Regions from separate parts of the Homo sapiens genome. Here all the other regions are linked to region 1. Evidence: promoter capture Hi-C in 16 types of primary human blood cells and fetal thymus (Javierre and others, 2016). All regions are on one chromosome and are shown on one strand. Each heading gives the region's core, a stretch centred on a gene start or on the middle of the fragment in contact. The rest is flanking DNA. Distances are from core to core; before and after follow the strand shown.

Region 1 (4,664 bases), core at 1,603-4,102:
ACGGAACCAAACAGAAGCTTTAGCAAAGCTACCCTCAAGCTTTTCTTTCCCACTGATGTTTTATAACATTCAGAAATGTATTCACACACAATGCAGGCCGTGATGGCCCCAGGTGGGGATTTCAGAGAGGAAGTCTCTCCTGACGCAGATGCCCATGCTCCTCACCTGCCCCAGATTTCTGACCCGGTGCCTCCTGCCCTCTCCCTGGGTGTCTGCAGGACTCAGTGCCACACTTGGCCCAAGGACACTGCTGAAGGACGTGCATACGCCAGTCGACCCTCACAGGGAGCATGAAGCATGCCGGCCCCCTGCTGTACTAGGAGGGCAGACACTAGGCGGAAGGGCATCCATTCCGAAAGCACCTGCCACCCACACGGAAGTCCTGAGGCTCGGGATGTGGAGGCAGGGCAGTCCTAGTCTGAGGGGCCACGGAGGCCGAGGTGACACCTGAGACTCTGCAGGTGGGAGCCCAAGCGCCCGCAGCAGCTCTCACTGCCATCCCAGCACCTCACAAACCTCTCCGGGTGCCCTTCCACCTGCTCCTTGCTCCTTTCCACCTCTGCTCTGGCCTCTAGGAGTCAAACCAAATGCTCCCTCCTCAGAGCGAGAGCCCCATCCCCCACCTCCGGCTGCTCCCACACAGGGCAGGTGACAGAAGAGCCACCACGCTTCACCAGGGCTGTGCTGTAGTCCTGCGAGACTGTGAGCTCCATGACACCAGGCTGGGTCTTCAGCAAAAGTCTTTTAAGGATGAAATACAAATGCCCTGGAGGAAGTGCAGAGGGGCCTTTGGGGCCAAATCAACAATAAAAGAGAAAATCGAGAAGGCTCCAGGTCTTGAACCCAAGAAAAGGGTACAGTGGGCTCTCCAGGGGAAAAAAAAAAAGAAGAAGAAGAAAATACACCCACTTTTAATGAGCCCCTGATGCAAGACAGGAACTCACATTCTATGGTTACTATTCCAACAACTCTGCCAAATGAGAATCATCATTATCGCCATCTTACAGATGAGAACACTGAGACTCAGAAAGGATAAACAGCCAATCCAAGGTCACACAGCTAGCTATTATAACTAGCTATTATAATAGTATTATAGATATAATACTGTAAGCTATTATAACTACCTCCCACTACCTCAATCAAGGAGGCCAGGAGAGGCCAAGGGAGAAGAGAGGCCCAGAGGGAAAAAGTAAGAGCACCAAAGGAACCCAGGGCTAATGCTGTCTCCTCTTTAACTTCAGGACAGATTCGCAGCCTCCCCACCTGTTTCCAACCTCCAAAATGAGAGCTGTGAAATCTCCTTGAGATCTCTGCTTCTGCTGATCTATTCAGCAACTATTTCCCGAGCACTTGTGTTCCAGTGCATAAGAAGGCTGTCAAATGTGCTGTCTTCAAGCATCTAGAAAGCCAGTGGGGGAGAAAGACAAGAAAGTGACTGTGAGCAGCAACAGGCCCCCGGGAGGGTGCAGAGGTGAGCAGGGCTGAAGGAAGATGCAGGGGGTGGGAGGCGCTGTCAGGGTCCGGGAAGCCTCCTTCCCGGAATGGAAAATGTGTAATGCCTGAGACCCAGATGCCTTGGGGAGCTTTTGGGGAAGCAGAGGTCTGATTAAGCACTGCCTGGAATTCCCTCATTCATGAGCATTCTTTCAGCACCTACCCTGCGCCCGGGAGAAACGGTCTTGAACACAGCAGACAAGCTCGCTACCCCCATAGAATGTAAAGAAACGGGGCACAAATTAGCATACAAAAAGACACAAGTGTGACCTACGGAAACTGCACAGAGGAGGTGCAACGAACGGAGCCCTGGGTTAGGACCGGGAGGCGCTGCCCACCATCAACAGAAATACTCCTCCTTTTGCCAACTACACACGCGAGAGGCTGGATTTCCTTCACAGACGTCCACCAAAGCCACACATCGCGACACACGGAGGCAGAAAGCAGCGGTCTCCTAAGAAGTTAGACACGAGGAATCTCGGGCAGCGAGGTGCCTGCAAGCCCGGGGGCGGGCGGGAGCAGCCTGCACGCGTGGGGAAGGGCACGCGGGAGCGGGTGGCGCCTTCCGGGCCGGGTCGGCCGGGAGGTTCCAAGGCAGGAAAGGGGCGCAGAAGGCCGGGACGGCGCCGGGTACAAAGCCTCGCAGGGACGCCCGAAGGCCGCAGAGCCACCGCGGGGAACTGACAGCCGGAGCCGGAGCTGGAGCCGGGGGGCGGGGAGGAGGGGCGGAGGGGCGCGGCCAGGCGGGGTCCGCGGACTCCGGCCTGGGAAGGATGCGCGCGGACTAGGGCGCGGGGAGCCAAGGCCCAGAACATCGGTACCGCGCTCCCTTCAGCCGAGGGGCTGCAGAGAGGCCAGGGGGCAGGGGGCAGGGGGCAGGGGGCAGGGGGCAAAGGGCAAGGGCAGAAAGGAACCCACGTAGCCAAACGGCACCCAGCGGCCCCGACCCCAAGTGTCCCGACGAGGGGGGACGCCTGCGACTAACGCGGGGACAGCCCCCGCCGCGCGCCACCGCCGCACCCCAGGCACCGGGCCCCCACGCAGGGACGGCGTGGACCACCCTACCCCCGAACCCCGAGGCTCTGGCCAACACTGAGGCCCCCTGTGCCTCGAGGCCGCGTCCAACCTCCCCCGCGGCGCCGGCCCACATGGTTCCGCCCGCCGCGGGCCGCGTTACCTAGGAGACCGACCCGCCGCGGCCGCGCCGGAGGCCACGGAGCCCACGCTTTTCAGAGAGTCTCCACTCGACGGACCCAGAGGCCCGGCGGCCGGTGCTCAACGGAGCCACAAGCCTGAGGACCGAGGACTGGCCGAGGGGCGCGCCCCGTCCGCTGCCACCCGCGGGAGGAGCCTCGGAAGGCGGCGCACCGCGCCGCACACTCAGTCCAAGAACCCGCCTCGCGTCACTGTCGCCGTCAGGGCCGCGGAGCCAATCAGAGCCCAAGTCGAGGGCTGCGCTTTGCGAGCGCCAGCCAATCGGTGCGGCGGCGGGCCCATCCTGATTTGCATGTCCGACGACCCCTCAACCAATGGTAATGTGACTGGCGTGAACAATAGCCAATCAGAAGCTGGAAGAGGCGTGGCCCCGGGCGTCCCACGAGGTGAAGATGCTGCTGGCGGAACCTGCAGGAGCTAGCGGGATTCGGGGGCGCTAAAGTCGCAGGGGCAGGGCGGGAAGGAAGATCCGGCGCGGGGCACAGGATCCGGAGCTGGAGCCCCCAGGTGAGTACCGGGGAGACCCCGGCGGGGCGCGCTTTCCACCAAGCTGCTCCGGGACGGCGGCGGCGGGTATCCGCGAGGCCCGCGCTGCGGCAGGCGCCGCGGTCCCGTCTCCATCTCTTCTTCCCCGGCCCTGCGTCCCTGCCTCCGCCGCTGTCTCACCTCCTCTCCAGCCTCCTCACCTCCTTCTCCATCGTCTCCCTTCCCCCATCCCTTTCTGTCTTTCCTTCCCTGTCCTCCCGCCCGCCCGACCCTTCAGCTCGCATCCCTGACCCCTGCCCCTGCCGCCGTCCCTCTTCCCGGTGCACCTCTTCCCCATCTCTGCCCGCTCCGGTCCTAGCAGCCTCGCCCTCCCCTTTCCTCCATCCTCCTCTCATCCCCTCTCCCGGCCTCTGCGCAGCCCCACCGGGGCGCTGCTGTTCCCGGTCCTCCCCATCTCTCCTCCTGATCGCTTCTCAAGGCTCATCCGTCGTTCTCGCTGCCTGTCCCTGTGTCGCTCCGGTCCCTTTCCCCACCCTCCCATTCTGCCCCCAGCCCCTCCGACCTCTCCCCGCGGGCACGCTCTCACCACCTTACCCTGCTCCCCAAGACTGTGACCCTGCTTCCTGCACCAGTTCCTCGGGCTGTTTACAGCACACACACCGCCACTTCTGACCCTGAGCCCCTACTCCTATCTTAAGCTTCTCCCTCCTGCCAGGCCTTGGCACAAAGCACTTCCGCACCTCCCTACCTGCTGCTGCTCCCAGGATGCAAAGACCCCACTGCTGCACCGCGTCCTGCGGCATTAGCAGCAGCCGGGGTACCTGCCCACCTTCCCACCCCGCCAACCAGCCGCATCCTGGTGTCCCTCCTCCTGGCATTTGTCCTGGGGGCTCTTACAGGGACTGTGCTTTGCCCGCAGCATCCCGGGGTGCTCCAGGTGGAAAGCCCCTTAGCACCTTTCCTCCCTGGCCACCGTCTCCTTCCCTCCCCACCCCCACTTTCCTGCTCAGCCTCACTTTGTGATTCAGCATTTTTGGGGTTGGTAACTTTCTTGCTTCCTGTCGTGATAGGGACCTGGCTACGGAGCTGAAGGCAGGGGTCTTGACCCTGCGGTTAGCAGGGCCACCTTAGGAACCAGACCTGAGCTGCCTGGTTGGGAGGGGGCTGAGGAGCTGGGGACCGCCACTGGGGGTTGTCTTTTCCTCCCTTTCATTTGTCTGCCCTGTGTTGAACTGTGTCCAAGGGGAGATGACATAAGTAATAGCTCTTGGGGAAGTGGGCTATTAGCATTTATGGAAATTAATACATCCACATCCGAGGAGCAAGAACACCAAGTTCAGGCCACAGCTGTCCCACTGTCTGTCGTTTCAGGATTTTTTCTTTCTCTGCAACTTCTCCTCCCCGACAAAAACCCCAGCCTCACCCCTCCCCTTTCCCCCAGTGCCAAGAGTAAGCTCCTGCTCTGCTAA
Region 2 (4,664 bases), core at 1,396-3,895, 3.6 Mb before region 1:
CGAGACCAGCCAGGCCAACATGGCAAAACTGCATCTCTACTAAAAATACAAAAATTAGCTGGGCGTGGTGGCAGGTGCCTGTAATCCCAGCTACTCATGAGGCTGAGGCAGGAGAATCACTTGAACCTGGGAGCCGGAGGTTGCAGTGAGCCGAGATGGCAGCATTGCACTCCAGCCTGGGCAACAAGAGCAAAACTCTGTCTCCAAAAAAAAAAAAAAAGAAAAAAGAAACAAAACTGGCAGAGAGCAGATACAAAACTGCGTGAGAGGAGTACAGTGGCGGGAACGTCCACACCACCAAAGGTTCACGGCACTTGCCTGGGGTTGGTGGGGGTACAGGTGTTATCGACTTTATACTTGCTTTTTTTGTTCTGTTTTGAGACGGAGTCTCAGTCTGTCACCCAGGCTGGAGTGCAGTGGCACAATCTCAGCTGACTGCAACCTCTGCCTCCTGTGTTCAAGGGATTCTCCTGGCTCAGCCTGCCAAGTAGCTAGGATTACAGGTGTGCCTTACCACAACCAGCTATTATTGTCTTTTTAGTAGGGTCAGGGTTTCAGCATGCTGGTCAGGCTGTTCTGGAACTCCTGACCTCAAGTGATCCGCCCACCTTGGCCTCCCAAAGTACTGGGATTACAGGCGTGAGCCACTGCGCTTGGCTTGACTTTACACTTTCTTTCTTCTATTACTTGGATTTACTACAAGAGTAGGTTCTCTTTATAATAGGAAATAAACCATAAAGCCAGTTTTCAGTCTGGAAAAGACAAATGAACTCAACCTCTAGGGAGAATTTCAAAGTCGCAGCTTCCTTTGCTAAAGGTGGCCCTCCAGGGGGGTCTCCCAGGCCTCTGTTTCCCCTGCCCATCCAGCCTTACCCTGAGCAGCCAGGGAAGCACCAGGGTACAATGGGCTCGAAAGCTACAGGAAATGCCACTTGCCCACCCAACCTCCCGGGGAGAAACTGGTTTCGTCAGCTGTGGGGCAGCAGCTGCAAGAAGAGACCACAGATGCTTCTCACCGTGCTTCCTCCCTGCTTTCCATTCTCCTTCATATCGAAAGAAGGAATTTGGGTATACGTAGACACCATAACCTGAGTATTGAGAAGACACACACAGGTAAGCACAGACACAGAGATGAGGGATGCTCTCCAGTGCTGAAGGAGGGAGTGCAGCTCCCTTGAGGGCCTTCAAGGGGTTGGTACACGTCACCTTCAGCAGACCAGAGGCGACCTGTGGGGCTCATGAGCTCTCCTGTCGACTGTTGGGCCATTCATTTGCTCATTTGTTTATGTGACAAGGATGAGGACCTACTTGGTGCAGAGAAGACAGGCCCAGTAAGAGGAGGGCTGGCTTGAAACAACTGCAGGTCCTTGAGAGACCAGAGGTGCTCGGGAGGTGGTGAGGAGCAGGTTGGGAGCCTTGTTGCAGGAGATGAGTGAGCCAGGGGAAGGCAGAGCGGCAGTGTCAGTGAGGCACACAGGGGAGGAGCAGACTCTCCCATCCCCTGCCGTGGCCCTTCAGTGGCCTCCTATCGCTGGGGAGAAAATCCACACTCATACCCAAGGATGGCCTGGCCGGCTTCATCTCCTCCTAGTTGCTGGGTGTGCCACCCGCCAACTCCTGCAGTTCCAGGAATGGGCAGGGCTCCCTCCCTACCAGCTCCTCAGGCACATTTTGTGGGCAGGGTTTATGGGAAAATGTCGGGGAGGAGGGCAGGGGGTTACTACAGGCTACTGTATCTGTCCCAAATCAGGGTCAGGTTCTACCTGAAGATAGTAGTGTTAGCTCTGAGTTCATTCCAGACCCGTTTATTTGATTCTAGAAACAGTTCCTATCAAAACCTGCTCTTTTTTTTTTTTTTGAGACTGAGTCTTGCTCTGTCGCCCAGGCTGGGGTGCAGCGGCGCGATCTCGGCTCTCTGCAACCTCCGCTTCCTGGGTTCAAGCGATTCTCCTGCCTCAGCCTCCCGAGTAGCTGGAACTACAGGAGGCACCACCCCGGGCCAATTTTTGTATTTTTTAGTAGAGACCGGGTTTCGCCATGTTGGCCACACTGGTCTCGAACTCCTGACCTCAGGTGATCCACCCGCCTCGGCCTCCCAAAGTGCTGGAAGTACAGGCAAAAACTGCTTTTGAAACGCGTCCTAGCGTTTCTGGACAGCACCGGCCAGGAAGTCAGGAGGCTTGGTGCTGCTCCTGCGCCTGCCCTCGCCCCAAGTCCTGGGCTTCGGGATCCCCATGGCAACCCCAGGTCCCGCTGGCTGTGAGGCTGCGGCCGGAACCCGGTCTTCCCGGCTAGGAGCCCGCGGGGGGCGACCCCCTGCAGGGCTTGGCCTGCTGCGGGAGGAGGGCTCGGGGAAGGGTGCGAGCCGAGCCCGAGGCGCACGGCGAGTCCTGTGGGAGTGGGGGACGCGGGGGCGGCCCTGGCTCCGCCGCGGCACCTGGACCTCTACTTTCCGAGGTGAGCATTTGGGGGTCGAGGGCGTAGAGCGATCGCACCCTGAATGGAGCCCAGGGCAGCCAGCGACCTGTCCCGTGGCCCGCAGTCGTTACCGTTCCGGGGCGGCCGCCTAGGCGGGTCCCGACGCGGCCCGCGGGAGCTCGGGGTGCCCTCGCCCGCCGCTGCCATCTTGCCGCCGAGGGTTCTCTTAGCGACCAGCAACGCCCGCTTCCATTGGTCTTTGTCGCAAGGGGGGGTGTGGCCACGGGCCTAGTCCCTGAGCCCGCGCAATCTCTGGAGCGAAGCTAGCCGGGCCCGGAGCCAGAGGACGCAGCTGCGCCTGTGCGCGTTTCCGCCGCTGTCGTCTCTTCCGCCGGGAGGCCCGCCCGCCAACGGCCTGCGCGTCTGCGCCGGAAGCGGAAATGGTTGGAGCCCTTGGCCCCGCCCTCGCGCCATCTTGGGGGCCCTGGAGGCGGCGCCGCGGAGGACGGAGCGGAAGTGCTCGCTGCAGCTTCCCGGAGCCGGAGCGCAGCGCCTGCGGCCGCCCGTGCCCCGCCGTCCTCCTTCCCGCGGCCGTGAGGGAGACCGCGGCTCGGCCGTAGCGGAGCTGCGAGGTGCCAGGAAGGGCTGCGTGGCGCGGGAACGGCCGGGCAGCGCCGCCTCCGCTTCTTCCGGGCTGTCAAGGCCGCGGGCGGGCGGGGCCGCGCTGAGGGCCGGGCGGGGAGGGCCGTCGGGGCCCGGGTGGCCGCGGGGACCGTGTTCCCGACCCGCGGCCCTGAGGGGTACGGGTCGCGCCTCGGGGTCGGGCCCGGGACGGGGTGCTGGGGGGTGCGGCGGAGCCCTGGGGCCTGCGAGGGTCGGGGGAGCGGGAGAGGGGCCGGGCGGGGGCTGCAGCCCTCGAGCCACCCGGGCCGCATCTCGTCCGCATCCCCTGCTTGGCATCTGGGGGAAGCGGGCAGTCGCGGCCCCCACAGCGCTGCGAGTTGGGCTGTATTCCAGAGTAATGTGCCCTGTCCCCATCCTGCGTCCAGGTCAGCGCTTATCTGTAGGATTTAGTGTTAAGCTCTGGGGTGAAGGCGTTACTGACGGGCTGAAGGGAAACTAGTTACATCGGTTTTGATCGTATTCTAAATAGGCAATAAAATCATAAATTCTCCAGGCTGACTTAGTACTGGTCTGTGGCCCCACTGATAAAGGTATCGTTCGTTTCTCTGCCAGGTGTCTCACAGCACAGAGGGCTGCTTTCAGCCTAAGTACCTTCAGTGGGCTTTTGCCCTTTTCCCTTTATGAAGAGTAGAGACTGGCCGCTAGTCCTGGAAGCACTTTATTTTTAGTTGAGTTGACATTTCCCAGGAAGATGCAGTTATCCCCGTAAGTGGATAAAGGGTTCTCAGTAATTCAGACTCTCACATGGCTTCTGCCGTATGCCTGAGGTGACGGCGACGGCGGTAACAGTGTGTCAGAGCCAGGTGGAGATATAAGATGGTCAGGCCCAGAGGAGCGGGGAGCCCAGGCTGGAATGTGGCCTTGGGAAGGAGGAAGAGACGGGGTCTGGGAGGGCATTTCAGAGGACTGAACAACACCAGAGGCGTGAAGCTTGGTGCACGGCAGCCGGGGGCTTTCTTAGTCCCGGAGGAATTGGGGATGGGGACGTGAAGAGAAAGGTGGGAGCCAGACTGTCAATGCTCCCGGACGCCAGGCAGAGGACTTCATCCTTTCCACGTGCAGAGTGATGGACCACAGATGTGGATGAATGTGACGGGCCTGGAACAAGGCACATAGAGAGTCTTACACTTTCTGGCACGTCCTCATGGTCTCTGCTTGGACTGGTTTTATCTCCCTTTCTGTTTTGTTTGTGACCAGGCATAAAGCAGTCACCTTCAACAGGTAATTGATGGGCTGTCTACTATGTAATGGACTTCCAGGTGGCAGGGCCCAGCCCCGAACCAGACAAGGGACCCCTCAAGGAGCTTCATTCTAGCAGGAGAAAATTGAGAAGTAAACCAGAAAGGTATCAGGAAACAGTTGTACACAAAATAAAAATAGGGTGATGTGATGTAAGGGACTGGGGGTCAGTGTGGGCGGTAACGGAGGCCTGTGAAGAGGAGGTGGGCTTCAAACTGAGCAGAGAAGAGGACTGCAGAGGGGGCAGCTGGTGTGAGGGCTGGCCCTGATCCAGGAACAGGGCTGGCACTGCCTTGCCCGGCTCCAAGGGTGCTCCACGGGCT
Region 3 (4,664 bases), core at 1,559-4,058, 3.4 Mb before region 1:
CCTGGAGGAGGAAGTGCTCTTCCCTGCCCCTCCTTGGCCATGTGACTTGCTCTGGCCAGTGACATGGGAGTGCAAGCGACACATCCCAGCTGTGCATGGCCGCTGGGAGAGTGTGGCATGGTTTCTCCATCTCTCCTCCATGTCCTCCCTTGTCAGGAGAACGGCATGTTCCAGAGAGCCACAGCTTGCTCAGCCTGGACCCCAGAACGAAGGAGGCATCAGAAGCTGAGCCACCCGTGGCCGACAAGAAACCTGAGTGGGAGGGGAAACTTGGTTGCTGTGATCGACCCAGGCTTGCGAGTTGTTTTGGCAACACAGCCTAGCAAGAGCCGACCAATATGTCATTGATGAAAGAAAGTCAACAGGCGTGTAGAAGGAGCTGTCTACTGAGCATGTCTGCACTTTTCTGAATTATGTTGCACTTGAGTAAAAAGTAAGCAAGCCTGTCTATTTACTTTAAATGATGTGTGCCAGATATGTACAGTATGCAGAGTTAAGAAGGTGCCACCCCAAAATAGGCTGCTCTGGCATAGTCACTATTAGGAATTAAAGGCAGTTAAAACAATAACAGGTGCAAAAAGATCATTCTGATCTCTCTTGTGTTTCTTAAAAGCAGAAGATGAAATTCCCAGGTGAAAGATGCTCTCCCTACACTAGAAAGCTCTGATCCTCAAGGATGAGAAGCTGAGACCCAGCAAATGCTGTACAGTCCCTGATAAAATGCCTCTCACCTTTTCAGCCCCCCACATCATCTAGCTGCTTCCTCAAACCTCACTGTTCTCTGTCCAACTCAGCACACGACTGAGTCTGCTTCACTGGGTCTTCACTTCCTTAGGAGGGCTCCTGAGCCACATCCAACTTTAATCAAATACACTGGCATGATGATCTGTCTTATCTTGATTTAACTCTTGGGCCCAGCCAGGACCTCAAAAGGATGGAGGTGGAGTTTTTCAGCCCCTACATATGCAAACACACACATAGCATGTATCTGAGCGGCCACATGGGCTGGCCCTGCTATTTTCTTATGGCTTCTCAGCCTCCCAGCCACCTTCTGCTCTGCATCACTGGAGCTGGGAGGCTGCAAGCTCCTTTCCCACTCTCCTCTGCCCGTTGGCTTCCAGTGAGGCTCCTGCAGCGATGGCGTTGGTGGGAGATGCCAGGCGAGGAATTGATCTCGCATTCTCGTTTCTGGGAACGTCTCTGAAAATGGCTGAATCCCGTCTGGGATCCCAGCTCCCAAGGAGGCGGCAGCTTGCTCACTGCTTGCACAGCCCCAGACGGCAGAGGGGCCCTCTCCTGCACAGCCTGAGACAGTGGAGGGGCCCCCTCCTGCACAGCCCCAGAAGATAGAGGGGCCCCCTCCTGCACAGCCCGAGACAGTAGAGGGGCCCCCTCCTGCACAGCCTGAGACGGTGGGGGGGGGCCCTTCCTGCCCAGCCCCAGATGGTAGAGGGGCCCCCTCCTGCACAACTCCAGAGGGTAGAGGGCCCCTCCTGCACAGCCCGAGACGGTAGAGGGGTAGCCCTGGTCTCTGGGGGCTGCACTCCTGGGCTCTGGAGCTGCCACAGCTCCTCCCTCCTAGTGCTTCCCCTTCCTTGTTTTGCTTTTTGCCCTTTCTGACATAGTGACGACTTCCGTTTCGCAGTCTGGACCTTCACCACCCCAGGGCGAGGGCACAGGCGAAGCAGCAGCACCCCCCCGGGGCCTCTCTTTATTTGGAATACAGTGTGGGGGCTCCCCCTTCCTTCTCCAGCCCGCCCAGGCCCCTGGAGCTGTCCTGGGGCCTGGGGAGTGAGGACCCGTGCCAGCAGCACAGACTCTGCCAGGCCGGGCCCGCTCAGGTGGGAGCCCAGGCCGGGTGAAGCTGTGACCCGGCCCTCACCCCAACTCGGTGACAAAAGCTATCACAGGGCTGCAGTGGGGGAGGAACAGGACGCATCTGCCAGGCACCTGACCCGCAGTGCACTTCTGGGAGCTGTGCTTATCTCCCCGGGGTCTATTTCGCCCCAAGGTTTGGCGGGTTAAAAGCTGATATGCAACCGGCACGACATGAACAGTATTTCATGATTAAAGACATCGCGTCCATGTATAATTGAGATGCTGCCGCATTTGCGGGGATTTTCAAGCGAAAACCAGGCCACGTGGAAAGGCTAAGCCCTCGCACCCCCCCGCCCCCCACTGCTGGGACCCCCGCCCCGCGGGAGACCCCGGCCCGCGGTCCCCTATGCCCGCGACCCCTGCGCTCACCCTCTCCCCTCAACCCTGAGTCCAGCCCAGTCTCGCGCGAGGCCGCAGGGAGACCCCCGCCGCTCCCTGGACCACCCCTGGGCCCACCGTACCCAGCCGCTCCCCGGCGCCCCCCGGGACGACCCCGAGCCGGCTGCCCGCCTCCCGCCGCATTCCGCACAGGCGCACCGCGCACCGAGGGCCGCACCGCCCAGCTCCGCCTGCTGCGCCAATGGCCGACGGGGTCCAAGTCGGCGGCCCAACGGAGAGGCGGGGCTAGGGGCGGGACCAGGACGCGGGACAGCAACTGTCCCGCAAGGCCCGGATTGAGGAGGCGGGAGGGACCGAAGCAGGCGGACCCAGGATTTGGCGCCGCGATCTCGAGGCTTGGCCTGGAGTAGGAGGGGAAACAAGGCGGGACTAGGGGCGAATCCGAGGGGGCGGAGCAGGGCTCGGGGTGCGGTCGGGGGCGTGGCCGGGGCGCGCTGCGGCCATCTTGGGGGCGGGCCCGGGGCGGAGACGAGCCCGAAGGGGCGGGGCCTCGGCGGCAGCAAGAAAGGCGGGACCGGGGCATCTCGGGGCGGGGCTTGGGGCTGGATCTATGAGCCGGGAGCGGGGATCCAGGAGCGAGGAGCCGGGAGCGGGGAACAGGGAGTCGGGGAGCCGGGAACCAGGGCTGGCAGCGGCCGCCATGAGCACGGTGGACCTTGCTCGCGTGGGCGCGTGCATCCTGAAGCATGCGGTGACCGGGGAGGTGAGGCCGGGTGGACGCAGGGCGGTGGGCGCGTCCCTGGCTCCTTGCCCGGGCGTCCTGGCAGCGATGGGGTGGTGGGGGCCGCGGGGCCTGGGCGGGGCTGGGGGCAACGGGGCGCGCCCATGACCCAGCCGCCCGGCAGGCCGTGGAGCTGCGGAGCCTGTGGCGGGAGCACGCGTGCGTGGTGGCCGGGCTGCGGCGCTTCGGGTGCGTGGTGTGCCGCTGGATCGCCCAGGACCTCAGCAGCCTTGCTGGGCTCCTGGACCAACACGGCGTGCGCCTGGTGGGCGTAGGGCCCGAGGCCCTGGGTCTGCAGGAGTTCCTGGACGGCGACTACTTCGCGGGAGGTGCGTCCTGTTCCCCGCCGCGGCGGCGCACATACCCTTCCCTAAGCTCAGGGCGTTCGGGGCCCTTTCCTGCCCAACCCCGGCCCTTCTGTCTGCTGGAGCGGCCTTGATATGCCCACGGGTCAGCGTCCCTCATCTCTCCCTGCCTCCCCGCCCCGCAGCTGGTGGCTGGGTGGTGCCCTGCACAGACCTGGGCCCAGCAGCAGAGTCTGGACGAGCTCTGCCCCGCCGGCTCCACCTGTTGCCTCTGGGACTCAGCCCCTCTTCTGAGGGGAGGGGGGACACTCAGCCCCGTTTTACCCCTCCCTGCCCTGCGGGGGTGGGCTGAGCACGGAGGGTGGGCAGAGGAACAGAGGGTCGGAAGGAGGAGGGCGATTCTTTGTGGTGAGTGGGTTGGGGGCTGGTTCTGCGCCTGGGGCACACACATGTGGCTTCCGCTTTCCAGAGCTCTACCTGGATGAGAGCAAGCAGCTTTACAAGGAGCTAGGCTTCAAGCGGTGAGTGGGGGCGGGAACCCTTGGGTAGCGTGGGGTGGGGGGCCCAGGGGTTCCCACCGCTCCCTGCCACCTCCTCTCCCTGCTGCCCTCTGTGGTGCTGTCCACTCGGGCCTTCCTGGGCAAGGCGGCTCTGGTGGCACTGTTGACCAGCCCTTCTGCCAGGCCTTCTCTTGGGTGCTGGGTGACTGTAATGAGCCACCTCGTCCGGGGCTTACTCTCGGTGTCCAGACCACCTCGTGGGGTGGAGCCTCGTGGCCCATCAGGGGCCATCCTAGCTTTCTGGTGTCTGTGCCACAGGCTGCTTCCTTTGCTTGGCAGTTGCCAGCTGAGCCAGATCCCTGGGCACACCCAGCCTGGGGCCCCATCCATGCTCCCTGCACCCTCTGTGGACCCTCGGCTAGCAGCCACTGGGCTCGGTGTCCAACCTGCCGGTGGGCTGGGCTGGCTACTGATCTGGTCGCCTGTGCCATCTCTGAGCCCTGGTGAGGCGGGTGGGTGGGGTGGGGCCTGACCTAGGAACTGGTCTCATGGACACTGGAGCAGGCTCTGGACCCAGGCTTCTCCGGAGTTTGGCCAAGCGACCTGGTGTCTTCGCAGGTACAACAGCCTGAGCATCCTCCCAGCAGCTCTGGGGAAGCCCGTGCGTGATGTGGCTGCCAAGGTGTGTGCGGGTCAAGGGTGTACAGGCCGGGGGGTGGTGGGAGCTCCCAGGAGCCTTTCTTCTAGGATTGACTCAGGCTGTACCCACTCCTGACAGGCCAAGGCTGTTGGCATCCAGGGGAACTTGTCTGGGGACCTGCTGCAGAGCGGAGGGCTGCTGGTGGTCAGCAAAGGTGGGTC

The links. The method cuts DNA at HindIII sites, captures the fragments that hold promoters and counts their contacts. A CHiCAGO score of 5 or more calls a contact.
Region 2: the fragment with the promoter of MORN1 here is called in contact with the fragment with the promoter of NPHP4 in region 1 in 1 of 17 cell types (fetal thymus); the score reaches 8.2 in fetal thymus.
Region 3: the fragment with the promoter of PRXL2B here is called in contact with the fragment with the promoter of NPHP4 in region 1 in 2 of 17 cell types (fetal thymus and monocytes); the score reaches 11.0 in fetal thymus.

Annotation. Positions count from the first base shown.
Region 1 is chr1:5,989,573-5,994,236 of GRCh38, forward strand. It overlaps NPHP4 (nephrocystin 4), which reads right to left and starts at 2,853. Exons shown (of 30, transcript NM_015102.5): 1 at 2,672-2,853. It also overlaps a transcript of KCNAB2 not described here. RefSeq lists enhancers at 1,422-2,276, 4,153-4,202 and silencers at 2,353-2,532, 2,683-2,852, 2,893-3,072, 3,153-3,402. The HindIII fragment of the contact is 3,854 bases long and covers 38-3,891 here.
Region 2 is chr1:2,388,909-2,393,572 of GRCh38, forward strand. MORN1 (MORN repeat containing 1) reads right to left here and starts at 2,646. Exons shown (of 14, transcript NM_024848.3): 1 at 2,550-2,646; 2 at 1,017-1,088. The coding sequence starts at 2,625. RER1 (retention in endoplasmic reticulum sorting receptor 1) reads left to right here and starts at 2,933. Exons shown (of 7, transcript NM_007033.5): 1 at 2,933-3,050. RefSeq lists silencers at 2,219-2,348, 2,509-2,578, 2,709-2,818, 2,919-3,218 and enhancers at 2,642-2,936, 2,805-3,677. The HindIII fragment of the contact is 4,806 bases long and covers 1-4,030 here.
Region 3 is chr1:2,583,969-2,588,632 of GRCh38, forward strand. It overlaps PRXL2B (peroxiredoxin like 2B), which reads left to right and starts at 2,809. Exons shown (of 7, transcript NM_152371.5): 1 at 2,809-2,980; 2 at 3,123-3,327; 3 at 3,773-3,824; 4 at 4,422-4,485; 5 at 4,582-4,657. The coding sequence starts at 2,918. It overlaps LOC100996583 (a long non-coding RNA gene), which reads left to right. Exons shown (of 4, transcript NR_121638.1): 4 at 157-566. RefSeq lists an enhancer at 3,617-4,249. The HindIII fragment of the contact is 11,388 bases long and covers 1-4,664 here.